Linked DNA regions of Homo sapiens: all the other regions are linked to region 5. Evidence: promoter capture Hi-C in 16 types of primary human blood cells and fetal thymus (Javierre and others, 2016). All regions are on one chromosome and are shown on one strand. Each heading gives the region's core, a stretch centred on a gene start or on the middle of the fragment in contact. The rest is flanking DNA. Distances are from core to core; before and after follow the strand shown.

Region 1 (2,700 bases), core at 21-2,520, 96 kb before region 5:
ATGCATTCATTTCCCATGGTAGTTCATCATTCTCTATTTATGGCATTTTTATTAGGTAACAGTATCTCATCTCTTCCCGATAATTGTGCTGCTGCATATTTTTAGAAACTTTTCCACCCGCCATTGTCAGGGACTGAGGAGTTGCATTAATGTTGAGTTTGAAAATTCTGTTCTTGCATCAGGCAGGTAAAAGTGGCCTTATTAGTATTTCTGTTTTCAATGTCTGGAGAAAAGTCCCAGGGAGAGAAAAACAAGATAAAGCATCATGTTGTCCACTGGTAAAATCTGTACGTGGAAAGTAGGCTAAGCTAGAGTAATCGGTTTAAGGTAGCAGTTAATAGTGTCTGCAGCTCTTTACTTCGTTAACCTCAGTTAACCAGGACCTGGCACAATGGGGATTGAAATCAGGGGGCTTATCCACAGTTTCCTCAAATACTGATTTTATCAAGTTGGGCTGATAATTCCATAAACTGTATGAGCATTGATAGTTAGATGTGATCGTTTTCAGAGTGATTCTTTTTCTGCTTGGGTTTATTTATTTATTTATTTTGAGACAGAATCTCACTGTGTTGTCCAGGCTGGAGTGCAGTGGCGCAATCTCGGCTCACTGCAACCTCCGCCTCCCGGGTTCAAGCGATTCTCCTGCCTCAGCCTCCCAAGTAGATGGGATTACAAGCATGCACCACCACAATCGACTAATTTTTGTGTTTCACCATGCCGGCCAGGCTGGCCTCCAACTCCTGACCTCAAGTGATCGGCCCCCCTCGGCCTCCCAAAGTGTTGAGATTACAGGCGTGAGCCACCACACCCGGCTCCGCTTAGTTTTTGCCAGTAGTTTTGCAGGGATGGTGTGTCTCCCCGCCTCTACCTCCTCCTCCTGTTTTGAAAAAGAGAATAAACGTATTGGAACAGCCCAGGAGATTGCCTGAGTTTTGCTGGCAGCCTCTGAAGCAGCCCACAGTATTTCTACCTTCCCCGGCAAGAACAGTGGCTTTGTTCTGTCCGCGCCGGAGGGGCCGGGCGTCTGCGGAGCTCGGCCTTGGACTTGGGAGCGGCTTTCTCTGGCTCTCCGGAGAAATGGGCAAGAGCGGCGAGGAGAGAAATCTGGGGCCCGGAGGATGTTCTCACCTGTCATTCCTAAGATGCGCTTGAGTGCTGCCCCCTGGAGGCGTCTGTGCCACCGGCTGGAAGTCAGCCGAGGGCACAGGGTGTCAGCAACCTCCAGGGTGGAAACCAACCCCGCGGCCCGGGCCTGCAGGTGACGCAGGGTGGGCGGGGCCTGCAGACGCCGGGTGGGCGGGGCCTGCAGGTGACGCCGGGTGGGCGGGGCCTGCAGACGCCGGGTGGGCGGGGCCTGCAGGTGACGCCGGGTGGGCGGGGCCTGCAGACGCCGGGTGGGCGGGGCCTGCAGGTGACGCCGGGTGGGCGGGGCCTGCAGACGCCGGGTGGGCGGGACCTGCAGGTGACGCCGGGTGGGCGGGGCCTGCAGAGGACCTGCGCGTCCGGATCTGAAGCGAGCAGAGCCCTCTCTACTCCAGCTGAACGGTGATGGTCGTCAGGAAGGAATGTGGGCTCACTGTGGAAAGAACATTCAGTTTTTCAAAAGAAGACAGAAATAGGGATGCTTATGTGAAATTCCTGATTTTTCAAACTTGGCAACTTAATTCAGTTAAAAAAAAAAAAGCATTTCTATGGCAGGACCACGAGTCATAGGTAGAACGCCTTGTACACATTAGAAAGAGAGCCTCGCTCTGGGCAGATAAAGCAGGAGGGGAAAAAAGTAGTGGGTCAAAGGTGCCTCTGAGCAGTTGCTCCCCTGCCCGACTGCTGGGCTTAATGCGATGGTCATGGCTGGATGTCAGCCTCCCTGTGGGGACACTGACACAGCTGCAGCAGCCCTGAGAGAGTCGCCAAGTGGGCCTGCCCATGCCAGGTGCTGTCCTTGGGCCCCAGGTTCACAAACTCTGGATGCTGGAACAGGTAGCCAGAGAGGGCAGGAAAGGCAGTGCAACTTGCAAGTCTACCCTTGTTAAAGGGCCCTACAATTGTAAAATTTCATGCCCCCCATATCCCAAACATCCTCTCCGTATTCCTGGATGATGAACGTTGGCTTGGGAGGCATGTTTACTCTAGGCAATATTTTTCTGAGGTTATTATACTCTGTGTGTGAGGAAGATTCATCTATGTATCCACTTTATCTTTTGGGAGTACATTTCACCTGTTGTTATTTTTAACATCTTCCCTTGATTGACCTGCTCGTGCTGGACCTCTTTAAATTATTTCTAATTCTGACAACATCCTGACAAGGTAATATAATTCCACTTACTTTACAAATAAAGACACTGAGGCTTCAAGAAGTAATTTTTCCCCAGACCAGCTAGGAAATGGCTGTGCAGAGCTTCAAACCCAGGTCTGTCTTACTAGGAGGCTGATGACTTTGATACTTCTACCTGAGATGGCAAAGTCTGTGTCTCTTCTCCCTGACGTCATCTAATGAAGATCTATGCTGTCTGAGCACTTAATGCCTAAGAATCTTCCATTTGGTGCCTTCCCCTTTCCCCTTTTTATATCTTTATAAATTTAACAACAGCTCTTTTGTATAGCAAAGAATGCATCTTTGTGGCACATAACTTTAAAAATAATAACATCACCAGATGCACACATCCAAATGAGTGTGGGTTGCCTTGATGATTAGAGACG
Region 2 (2,700 bases), core at 59-2,558, 86 kb after region 5:
ATCATTTCTCATTATTTTTCTTCAGTCCAAACTTATTTTAAGCCAAACATATTCAACACCAAAGTATTGAGTAGTTGAAGAAAGGCAGATGTGCATTACAGTGTAATTAGGTTCATAAGTTACTATGACAGGCAACTGAATAAACCTCAGTGTTACTGCACATTTTGCCAGAAAAGTTGTGAAGCTATTTTTTCCACTTCTCTTAGATCCTGAAGAGCCACTTCCTTTTCTCTGCTGACACATACCTGCTTGCCCCAGTGCCTTGGAGGAACTTCCAAAGGTCTAAATGAAAAGCCTTTTAAATTTCTTAGAAGTCATGAAGTCATGACTTCGTACATACAGCCCAATGTGTGTAGATGACAAGAGGGGCAACTTTTACAAATTTAAGTCAATTTTATAGCCATCTGTTGTAGGGGATACAAATATTAGTCTATGACAGGTAAACAATTATAGTTCAGTAAGCCACAATAACAGCATCTTGTACAAAATGATGTGATGGTGCAGAGAAGCTCTTGAGGAGGGTGGTAAGGAGTTAGGCCTAACTTGCATCTAGAGACTGGAATTTATATCTGGGATGGAGTTAGCTTTGTAACGATTTAGGCGCTACCTCATCCCTAGGCCTAGGAGAAGAGATATCACAATGATACAAGGAAAAGGCAGCAGTAACTGAGGATAGAAAATCTAGGTAGGAGCCCTCGTTCTGCGGTTTGCTAGTTCCTGACTTCGAGTTGTCTGGTCACTTTAGTGAGGGGGTAGTTGCCTTATCTGTAAAATGGAAACGGCATTAATTCCCACATCACACAGAACTGTTGCTGCAATCAAATGAAATAATGTTAGTAAACTGCAAAGCTTCCTGCAAATGTTTGCCATTGCCTTGGCTCTCCAGTGTATGTAATGCTGGTGACATAAATAATAGCTTCATTCCGTGTTTGCACTGATGCATTTTGAATGTAACCTTTGAAAATTAGGATCCTCTTGTCTTTGGGACAGTAGTTTTATTAGGTGCAGAGAAGCATTTGAATATTCCAAGTGAAATATTAGGAAATAACTCCTGCAATCCTTCCTTGCTTTGCAGGTGATTGCACAGTTTTAAAAGGTGCTTGAAATCTCTTGGCCACACTCACAAATGTATTACTGGACCTTAATCAGCAGTTCTAGAGAAGCAGCACCTGTTTGCTGTGGTCTGCAGGCTGGGTGTCTGAGAACAAGCCTGTTTGGGGGTTAGAGGCCCAGCTTTATCCTTGGGCAAGTCACTTCATCTCTGGGCCGCCCTTTCCTAACTTCAGATTCAGAGGTCAAACCCACTGATAATTAAGGGCTCTTCTATCCTTAAAGATCTGTGTTTGCATAAGAGTTCGGTTTTGTTTTTTGTTTTTTGTTTGTTTGTTTGTTTTCTGAGACACAGTTTCACTCTTGTTGCCCAGGCTGGAGTGCAATGGCATGATCTCGGCTCACTGCAACCTCCGCCTCCCGGGTTCAAGTGATTCTCCTGCCTCAGCCTCCCAAGTAGCTAGGATTACAGGCATGTGCCACCATGCTCAGCTAATTTTGTATTTTTAGTAGAGTCGAGGTTTCACCATGTTGGTCAGGCTGGTCTCAAACTCCTGACCTCAGGTACCTCAGGTGATCCACCCGCCTCGGCCTCCCAAAGTGCTAGGATTACAGGTGTGAGCCACCGCGCCCGACCCAAGTTTGGTTTTTGTTCATTTATTTTGTTTTGCTTTTGCTTACTCTCTTTACCAATTTGCAAGTCACCCCTGAAGCTTCCCATTTGAAAATTAAATTTTATTTTGGAAATCATTGTAAATTCACATGCAGTTGCAAGAAATAATATGGAGTTCCTATGTACCCCTTACCCAGTTCCTCCCAGTGGTAACATCTTACAAAACTGTAGTACAGTATCACAACCAGAATATTGACACTGACAAAGTCAAGATACAAAAAATGCCTGTTATCACAAAGATTCCACATATTTTCTTCCCCTTTCCTCCACCTACTTCTTCATCACTGGCAACCACTAATATGTTCTCCATTTCTATAGTTTTGTCATTTCAAGAATGTTGTATCAATGGAATCATAGAGTATATAACCATTCATGATTGGTGTTCCCCAACCCCACTGAGCATAATTGTCTAGAGATTCATTAAGACTGTTGCATGTATTAGTACTTCATTCCTTTTTATTGGTGAGTAGTATTCCATCAGGTTATATGTACTGTATCATAGTTTATTTAGCTATTCACTGTCTAAGGACATCTGAATTATTTCCAGGTTGGGGGCATTATGAATAAAACTGCTGTAAACATTCACGTACAGATGCTTTTTTAAATTTTTTATAGAGATGGGGTCTCATTATGTTGCCTAGGCTGGTCTTGAGCTCCTGGCCTCAAACAGTTCTCCTGCCTTGGCCTCCGAAAGTGCTGGGATCGTAGCACTGTGCCTGACCAGTATGTACATATTTTTGTGTAAACATAAATCATCCTTCTCTAGAATAAGTGCCTAGAAGTGAAATTGCTGAGTCATATAGCCATTGTATGTTCCATTGTTTTAGAAACTGCCAAACTATTTTCCAGAGTGACTGTACCATTTTACATTCTCACCAGCAGCATATGAGTGATCTAGCTTTCTTACATCCTCTCCAGCATTTGTGGGGTCACCGTTTTTTATGTCAGCCATTCTGATAGATGTCTAGTGGTATGTC
Region 3 (2,707 bases), core at 55-2,554, 100 kb after region 5:
GGAGGAGGTCAATAAATATTTGCTAAATGAATACATTAGTGAATGACACGGTAGGAAACAGCAGAGTGTGGCCTGCTCTTGGAGCTGGTTTGACAAGGAAGGATTCCAGCTATCAGGGAGTGGCTGGGCAGGGGCACAGAGCTGCGCGCTACACAGTGATGAGAACCCTTCCAAAAAGCCTCTCGTCTGGCCTGCTTTCCTGGCCCTTGCCACACACACAAGGTCTGTGGTGCTGGTGGTGCCCATTCCAGTAGTCTGAAGTTCATTCCATCAATAGCATCTTACGCTTAGCCTGAGACCCACGTAGCAGAAAAATCTCAACTTCAGACACCGCTGTGCGTTTTTTGGATAGTGTTTCAGATTGGGGTTTTTTTGTGTTGTTTTTGGTTCCTTTGCTTTTTAAACAGTTCCTTGAGCTGCTGACAGAGTAGCCCAGTGTACATGGGTGGTCCCAAAATGCTTTGCACTATTTGGACCTACTCTGTTGTATTACATGGGTAACAAGATCAGAGGAATTTGGATGTGTTTAGGTTAGGATTTAGATCTGGATACTACATATAGACCTGCTTTTAATTCCCTCTTTCCTTCTTGTATTATTTAAGTCCATGGACACTTAGAATCAATATATAAACATCTCCAAGAAGCACAAAAAGAAGCAGCATGTGGAACGTGAGGTCAAAGCTGTCAGCTCACATTTCCCCTCCCCAGAAAAGCCCGGAGATTTTGGAGTTCCTCAGTACATGTCTTCAGTTGGCTTCAATGTCAGTTTGCTTCTTGTTCTTTATATAATTGTTGACTTCTTTGAAGTTCATTATAGACATCACTAAGTCAGATAGTCCCACATTATAAGCAGACTCTTCTAATTCTTCTGCAGTGTGAATTTGCTTTTCCCATCTGTGAGATTTCCCTGTGACTGGCCCACTGACAGTCAGTTGCCTGCATCAGGGACCGCTGAGTGTACAGAGCTGCTTCTTTCCTTCAGAGGGAGGCTCAGACCTGGAGAGGGGACCACATTCAAAAGAGCCGATTGTTTTCAAGCATTGGAGAAGCAGCTCCAGAAAATCCTTGCCTGGCAACATTGGAGAAATGCGCTGATCTTGTGTTTTTACCATAGAAGTGGTTGGAAAGGGGAATTTGCTGCTGGTTCCTTTCATCTTGATGGTGGTTGCTTTTCTTGGATAAAGTCACAAAATTCTTCTGAAACTAGAAATTGTGACCCTTGATATTAAAAAGGTATATAAGGGCTCTAATTTTTTCAAACCTACTATGGGGTGACAAAATCCATTTACTGAAGGTATTAAGACTGCAGATAATATTTCTGCTGAATAAGAAGCAGTGTGGACTAATGGGAAGAGACACAACATATTCTTCTCCAGTTTCTCATAGTTTCGATGCTTTCTTGAAAGTGCCTGTGAGGCAAAGATGCATGAAGACATGTTCTGCTTTTTGCTGTTTTTTTGTGTTTTTTTGGTAACATAGAAAGTTAGGTCATAGACCTGGGCCATGGACCTGTGTAAGTATTTAAGACATTTGGACATATTTTGTATCTGTAACTTCCCTTCCCTTTTTAAAAAGTTCTCTAAACTAGAAATGGTGTAGATATGGAATCAACTGTGAAACTATCCTTCTCTGGCAGCTCCAAAATCCTTTACATTTTTTCCTGGCTGGGTGACACGATTTTAACCCTAACTGAATGGGCCAATCTTTGGCCTTTTCTACAAGTTCTCAAATTCAAGGGCAGAGAGTCTAGTGGACCTGGATACTTGTACCGGGTTAAATGGACTTATCAGTGAGGTATTATCTAGCTTTAACCTTCACAAGATGGACACATGGCTTAAAAAGCCTCCTCTGAAGAAACCATGGGTTAAAGATAGACTAATAACACAGGCCACCCAAAAAACCAAACTGACAAAAACAGCAAAGGTAGCACTTCTGCTCCCCTTCCCAAAAGCTCTTTGCCAGACACCATTACAAGAAAGAAAGACTGATGATCTGATGTGCCAAGCAGCTGGCCAAAACAAAGAAACAAAAAACCCTTCAAAATTATAAAAATCTAACTAGGACACAGGGATGAAAAATCTACATCTATAATTGTTATCATATATCTTACACTCAAAGTATATTTTGCGCCTTGGACTATTAAGTAATGATAATGGCCTGTGTAGATAATTTATTAGGTCCCAAATAAATAATGAATAAAATAGAGCATGGGGTGGGGGTGTATGTTCAAAATGCTTGGAACCTACTGCTTAGGGAATGTCATTGACTAAGGTTGATGTTCAAAAGTAGGGGTGGTGGCCTCAGAGGACAAACCTGCCTGCAAACAAAGTCTGAATGGATGATAGAAGCCACGGATAAGAGGGAAAGAACTTGGAGGACATACTGTACAAATCAGAAGGACAGGAAATCTCCTTGTCTTTCTATAGATACACAGAACTAAGGAAGGATCCAGGGAAAGTAGACACAAACTCAACAAAGCAACAAGGTCCATCCAAGATCTGGTTCCAGAGCTGACTGGGCATTCCAGGTCACTTGACAGATGGTGGTAGGAGATGCATTCGTGGGACCTGGGTGGTGTACATCACCCAGGCTGGCCTCTCCAACCTGCCCTCAGTGCAGTCCAACATTGAGAACACAGGCAAAGGTGGAGAGTGGGTTTTGACTCAAGCTTTTGGCCTCTTGCATTTAATCATCCAAGTGTGGCCTT
Region 4 (2,700 bases), core at 41-2,540, 74 kb before region 5:
CGTGAGCCACCGGGCCCGGCCGCTTATTTCCTTCTTACTGTGCATGTGCTAAAAATAGAGGGGAGGTGGAGCCCCCAGGGTGGACATTCCTGGCCCCAGGTACCTCTTTCTAACTGTGCAGCTTCTGGCATCCCCTCGTGCAAGTTTCCAGCTTCCTTATCTATGTTTGCAGCCCGATCTCCCAGGCTGCTCTTTGTTAGAAAAGAAGGGATTTCTTGGGCTGTTCTTTGTTAGCAGGGAAGTTCTGCCGAGGACTCTTTTGCCCTCATTATCTGCTTAAAATAATTTCTGTCTCCAGTATCACTTGCCTTATGTTCCTGCTCTAAAGCGTTTTAATAAACGCTCTGAAACTTGCCTCAGTCTCTTTTTCTGCCGTATGACCCTGAGTTGAATTCTTTCTTCTGAGGATGTAGGAATTGAGGTTGCTGCAGACCCATACGGATTCTATTAAGGTAACTTGGATATTCGCTACTAGTGATACATTTTGGTGCCACGTGACTCGGATACCTTCTGCTGCTAACAATTTTCTTCCCTACACATAACAATAATTAAGCATCTTGCCTAGAAGGATTGAACAGGAATTTGTAGGATCTAAGACAGGGTCCCATTCTGGGGCGAGTCACTGAACCTGCAATATGCTTAGTATTTACATCTGTTCTTCCTCCATTCCACTTCACCCCATTCCCTGCTTTCAACTCTGTATATGAGCTGGGGAAAGCAATCTGGGCAAAATGCCTTTGCTTGGCATTAGTGAAAGTCTATACAAGGCATGTGAAAATCAGCTTTATTACTTTAAAAGTAATTTTTAAGTTCTAGTGAGACTGACATAAAATAAACGAGACATCCTAGAAAATCAGTGGAGATGGGCGGGTTTCTGTTTGTTTTTGGGTTTTTGGGGGGCCCTCAATTTTTTTTTTTTTTTGTACCACAATGTCCTAAGTATTATGCAAAATCAGTGATTGATTCTCTGAGAGGGGGAGAGGAGATGGTTGTTTAAGTCCAGTCATGGAGACTTAACAGCTGGAAGAGGGGAGAAAAGAAGCACTGGAATTCCACAACAGGGTCTGGAGTCCGTTGAGACCAAGAGAAAGGACTCACAGCTTGCTTATGCTGATTATTTGGTTTTCCATTTGACTTGCATGGCATGAAAAAGGTGCGGCTCAGGAGCCTTTTAAAGTTGCACTCAGCAAATTCAGCAAATTCCAGGTGCCACCCAAGGCAGAAAACATGCACAATACAGCTTCTTTACTGCTGCTTATTTACTTTCCAACAAATGCAGAACAGAGAAAATGTGAATGCTGGGTGCTGCTCCTACAAACCAGGATAACTGTGCTGGGGCTGTAGAGGGGGATCCCAAAACCATCACTAACAGAGCTGAATTATTTATTCTTAAATATGTGGAGCCAGTTACAAGAAATGGACTCAGCAGCAAAAGGTTTTACAGTCCCAGTGGTCTCTGAATGGGAATTTGAAGTCAAGTCCAGTGACTCAACCCAAGTCTTTTTGGCAAGTCCAGGAACACATTTAAGTGTCCAGCCAAGGGCTACATGATTCCTTATTCCATGAACACCCGAAATAAGAAAATACTCCTCTCAGATACAAAAGCAGACTTTTCTAAAAAGATTTGCCAGAATTTCACACGGTTTCTCAAACTTTCACCCAAATATTCCTAATAGCAAAGGAGAGTTGAAAGCTATCCCCTGAGATACAGGGAACTATTTGAAAGAAACCTGCAAAAAGCATCAAATGTCTTTATAATCCTGTGTTTCAGCTTTTTAAAAAGTGAATGTTGCTTTCTGTTTCATAGTGCATTTGCTGGTTCTATGATAGTTTTAAATGACTGACCATTCCAAAAAAGTACACATTGCTTATTTTATGACTTTAAATGGTCTCCAAGGACATGACCGGGGTTGCAGAACCTTATATGTTTTAGCAAACACGGATGTGGGATTTAATGTGGGGCTTGAGGTGAATAAAATAAAGATCTACAATGTTTCTCACCCCTACCCAACCCCTATCTGCTCCACTTATACCCCATTTGGGTTTGGGAGTCAAAGAAGGGAAAGGATGGAAAAGTGTGAGGAGGAAGGGAAGGAAGAATGAAACTCCAGGGCATTTTGAACTTGTTAGGTGGAGTAAAATTAAATGCATCCAGTGAAAGAATGACTGCCCTCTCCCCTTCTTTCCCAGATCCCAGATCAGCCCCCAATTAAGCATTGCTTTGATGGAAACAGGCTGAGAAAAGACAAGATCTATGTTGACATAAACTCCAAGCAGAACCTCATGGGGTTTGCAATTCGGCAGTTGTCCCACCCTGTAAGTGGTCTTCAGAGCGCCCACCAGGTGCAGGCATCCACAGAAAATGCAGAACCAGGAGGCCCAGGAGTGGCTTCATTGGATTTTTAAATCTCATTTTAAACCAATAGCTCATAGACTGAGCTATTGGTTACTCTTTGATCCACCTTTTCTTCTCCAAGGGCCCTGGAACGTCAGGATCTAAAGCTGGCTCTGAGGCTGTTAACTGAGAATTTTTCACTCACCAGAGGTTGAAAGGTCAGAAGCCCACAGTGGTGTTAGGTAACACAGAATAAGCCAAATGGGCTGCCTGTGAAGGGTGGATTTAGGGATTAACAGTGACCTGGAGAGTTTGTGCCCTTTTTAAAGACACTGACATTCAAATTTTAAAAAAAAGAAAGAAAG
Region 5 (2,700 bases), core at 12-2,511:
TGCTCCAGGACCAGGACCCTGTAGTTTCATCAACTGCAGACAGTGCGGGGGAAAAAGCATTTCGGTCTTTTCATTTGTTCGTCATGTTCAAGGTGCCCCCTTATGTTAAAAAATTAAAAAAAAAAAAAAAGAAAGAAAAAAGAAATCTCCTGGAACGGAGAATCTATGAAATGTTTCAATATGTATTCATTTTGGGGCACTACCTTTTACTAGAGCAAAGAATCCCCTACTTAGAGGGAACCAATGGATTGGTTACACCGTGTTACCAAGTCCTCAGGAGGGCAAACTGAAAAGCTGCAAGCACTGCCCGGCCAGTGTTCGATTGCTTTTGGTGGACTAGTGCGTCTGAGTAGCCATCTGTAATGTCAACATGTGGCAGAAAGTTTCTCCGCACCTCCCTCGCCCCAGCTCCACTCACCACTTAGTGTATGTTTTAAAGCAATAAAGCGATGGGTCTGCTTAGAGGGGGTTCTAAAGAGAAAGATAAACACGGGCTTTATTAAGTATACAGCAGGGCAATGTGACGGGCGACCACGAAGGGAACTCAGGGAGCCTCTCAGCAGCCCGGCCTCCTTTCGTAACAAAACTGGAGTCAACCCGATCATTTTAGGGGCGCTGGGTGGAAGGCTGGCTTTTCCAGCCAAGGCAGGATGTGCTGGCTTTTTCTCTGGAGGTGTCCAAGAGCGCAGAGAGAGTGTCTAATGGTGACTTCGGATTCTGGCCACTCGGGCTCTCCCTGGGTGACAGAGAGAGTGTTCCCTGCTGCTTGGTCTCCTTCAGGCGTCAACCAGCGCACGCACTTGGAAACTCTGAACCCGGAGGACGTTCTGTACCTCTCCATGCCCCAGAGCCGTTTGGGGAAGGGCCCACCTTACCCCCCGCCACCCCCGGGGCACAGCAGCTCCCCATCCTCTCGCCCAACACTTGCTAGGTAGTTTGGGGTGTAGAAGCGACCCCAGCAGCAGCGGCACCTTAGGTGCTCGCCGAAGGTGAACGCTGGACCGCCCCGGGAAGGGCTTTGCTCCCGACTTCATCCCGACGCTGGTGCAACGGGAAAAAGAGAGAGCCCGCGCGAGTGGGGCCAGGGCGCGCAGGAGAGGGCGGGCGAGAAAGTGCCCGGCGAGGGCAGGCGCGGGCCGAGGGCGGGGCGGGCGCGGGAGGGCGCGAGAGGGGCGTGGGCGCGGCCGCTCGCTCGGCCGGGTCGGGCCAGGGGGAGGGGCGCTGGGAGAGCGAGAGCGGCGCGCGCGGCAGCCCCGAGGCAGCAGAGCGCGGAGCCGGGAGCGCGGGGAGCGCGGGCCGGCGGCGGCGAGGGAGGACGGGGGCGCAGACGGCCGGCGCGCGGCGCGGCTACCATGGGCGTGCGGTGAGCAGCCGCTCGGGACGACTTCCTCGGCTGCGCGGCGCTCGCGCGGAGCTCCCCGGCCGGCGGTGCGTCCCCACGGTCACCATGAAAGGTAGGGCGGCGGCAGCTCCGCGGGGCTCTGGGCGGGGGGAACGGGCTTCGGGGCGCGCGGGAGGCCACGGAGGTGCCTCCCGCGCGAACCTTCCCTTGGGCTGCGGGCCCGGGGAGTCGGGGCTGCCAGGGCGCCGGGTTCGTGCGCGGACACTGGGGGCGCACCCGGCTCCCGGGTCAGGCGCGGCTGGAGACCTCGAGGTTGGGGTTTTGAAGCGCGCAAGTATTCCCCTCCCCATCGCGTCTTTGCAAGTAGTTTGAAGCCCTAAGTCGTTGTTTACGGATTCCCGTTTCCAACTTTTTAATTGAAAAAACCTGCCGAGGAGAGTGGAGGCATCGCCATCCCTCCCGGTCGCTTTTCCACGCCGCAGCGCTCCCCACGCTCGCCCAGTCCTCTCTCCTCCCGCCTCTAGCCGTTTCCCGGCCCGAGCGGTCCCCGCGCTGGCGGCCGGGTGTTTTCTCCGGGACTGGGGATGTTCTCCGTGCGCCCTCGCCACATCTGGCAATGATTAGGTGCCCGAGGAGTTCAGCTGGCTCGGGAAGTGCATTTGGCATCTTTCTCCATCAGATTCACCGACTGGAAAATAGTTGCCCTCGGTTCCGCGTCCCTTCCACGTGCCCGCCTTGGGGTGTGCCCACTGGTGTTTTGGGGTGACACACCTCAGCTGGTTAGTCGCCCCCTGCGCGGTGTCCTCTGCAGGCCGGTTTATGGAAGTGTCAGATGTTATCGTACTTTAGAAAGAAGCACGAGAAGGACTGCAGGGCAGCCTTCTGTTTAGTGGAAACACGGAGATTTGTCAGCGGAATCCTGATTTATGTATGAGATAAGTAACCGCAGCGGAGGCATCAAAGAGTCGTTCAGGAATGGGCCCGCGTGGTGTTTACACAAGGCTTCGTGTGAGAGTTGCTGGTTCTGTGCTAGGATAACACAGCCCTGCGTGGGTGCGAAATGCCATCTGACCGCGGTCACCCCGCTTCCAGCCGCCACAGACCTGGCGATGCAATCGCTTTGACTTCTAGGGTTGCCGTCCGAGGGAGGCGCCCGGGAAGCCCCAAGGCGCTTGGAAAGTAACTTTTGGCTCTGGAAAGTTTTTTTTCTGAAGGGCAGCTCCCGCGGAACTAACCGGAGCGATGATATCCTACCAATTCACTCCCTTTCCAAGGGCGTTAGGTGTCCACGTCGGGAGACCTCGGGAAGGGAGGTGACTGATGGCCAGGTGAAAAGTGGTCTGCCCCAGGGAAAAAGA

What was found. Contacts are between HindIII fragments. The CHiCAGO score rates a contact against its expected background, and 5 or more counts as called.
Region 1: the fragment with the promoter of CLUL1 here is called in contact with the fragment with the promoter of COLEC12 in region 5 in 4 of 17 cell types (M1 macrophages, M2 macrophages, M0 macrophages and 1 more); the score reaches 11.8 in M1 macrophages.
Region 2: a contact is called between a fragment that was not itself captured here and the fragment with the promoter of COLEC12 in region 5, in 4 of 17 cell types (M2 macrophages, M1 macrophages, M0 macrophages and 1 more). The highest score is 10.1, in M2 macrophages.
Region 3: a fragment that was not itself captured here is called in contact with the fragment with the promoter of COLEC12 in region 5 in 4 of 17 cell types (M1 macrophages, M2 macrophages, M0 macrophages and 1 more); the score reaches 11.0 in M1 macrophages.
Region 4: a contact is called between a fragment that was not itself captured here and the fragment with the promoter of COLEC12 in region 5, in 3 of 17 cell types (M2 macrophages, M1 macrophages and M0 macrophages). The highest score is 7.3, in M2 macrophages.

The regions. Positions count from the first base shown.
Region 1 is chr18:595,558-598,257 of GRCh38, reverse strand. It overlaps CLUL1 (clusterin like 1), which reads right to left and starts at 1,270. Exons shown (of 10, transcript NM_001393344.1): 1 at 1,129-1,270. RefSeq lists an enhancer at 290-789 and silencers at 1,212-1,331, 1,392-1,521. The HindIII fragment of the contact is 7,229 bases long and covers 1-2,700 here.
Region 2 is chr18:413,295-415,994 of GRCh38, reverse strand. The region is part of intron 2 of COLEC12 (collectin subfamily member 12); the gene reads left to right. Among named protein-coding and RNA genes, the nearest start is that of COLEC12, 86 kb to the left of the region's middle. The HindIII fragment of the contact is 914 bases long and covers 852-1,765 here.
Region 3 is chr18:396,823-399,529 of GRCh38, reverse strand. The region is part of intron 2 of COLEC12 (collectin subfamily member 12); the gene reads left to right. The region is part of intron 1 of LOC107985155 (a long non-coding RNA gene); the gene reads right to left. Among named protein-coding and RNA genes, the nearest start is that of COLEC12, 100 kb to the left of the region's middle. The HindIII fragment of the contact is 2,733 bases long and covers 1-2,670 here.
Region 4 is chr18:573,460-576,159 of GRCh38, reverse strand. No RefSeq gene overlaps it. Among named protein-coding and RNA genes, the nearest start is that of CETN1, 5.6 kb to the left of the region's middle. The HindIII fragment of the contact is 5,186 bases long and covers 1-2,700 here.
Region 5 is chr18:499,262-501,961 of GRCh38, reverse strand. It overlaps COLEC12 (collectin subfamily member 12), which reads left to right and starts at 1,261. Exons shown (of 10, transcript NM_130386.3): 1 at 1,261-1,454. The coding sequence starts at 1,448. The HindIII fragment of the contact is 13,067 bases long and covers 1-2,700 here.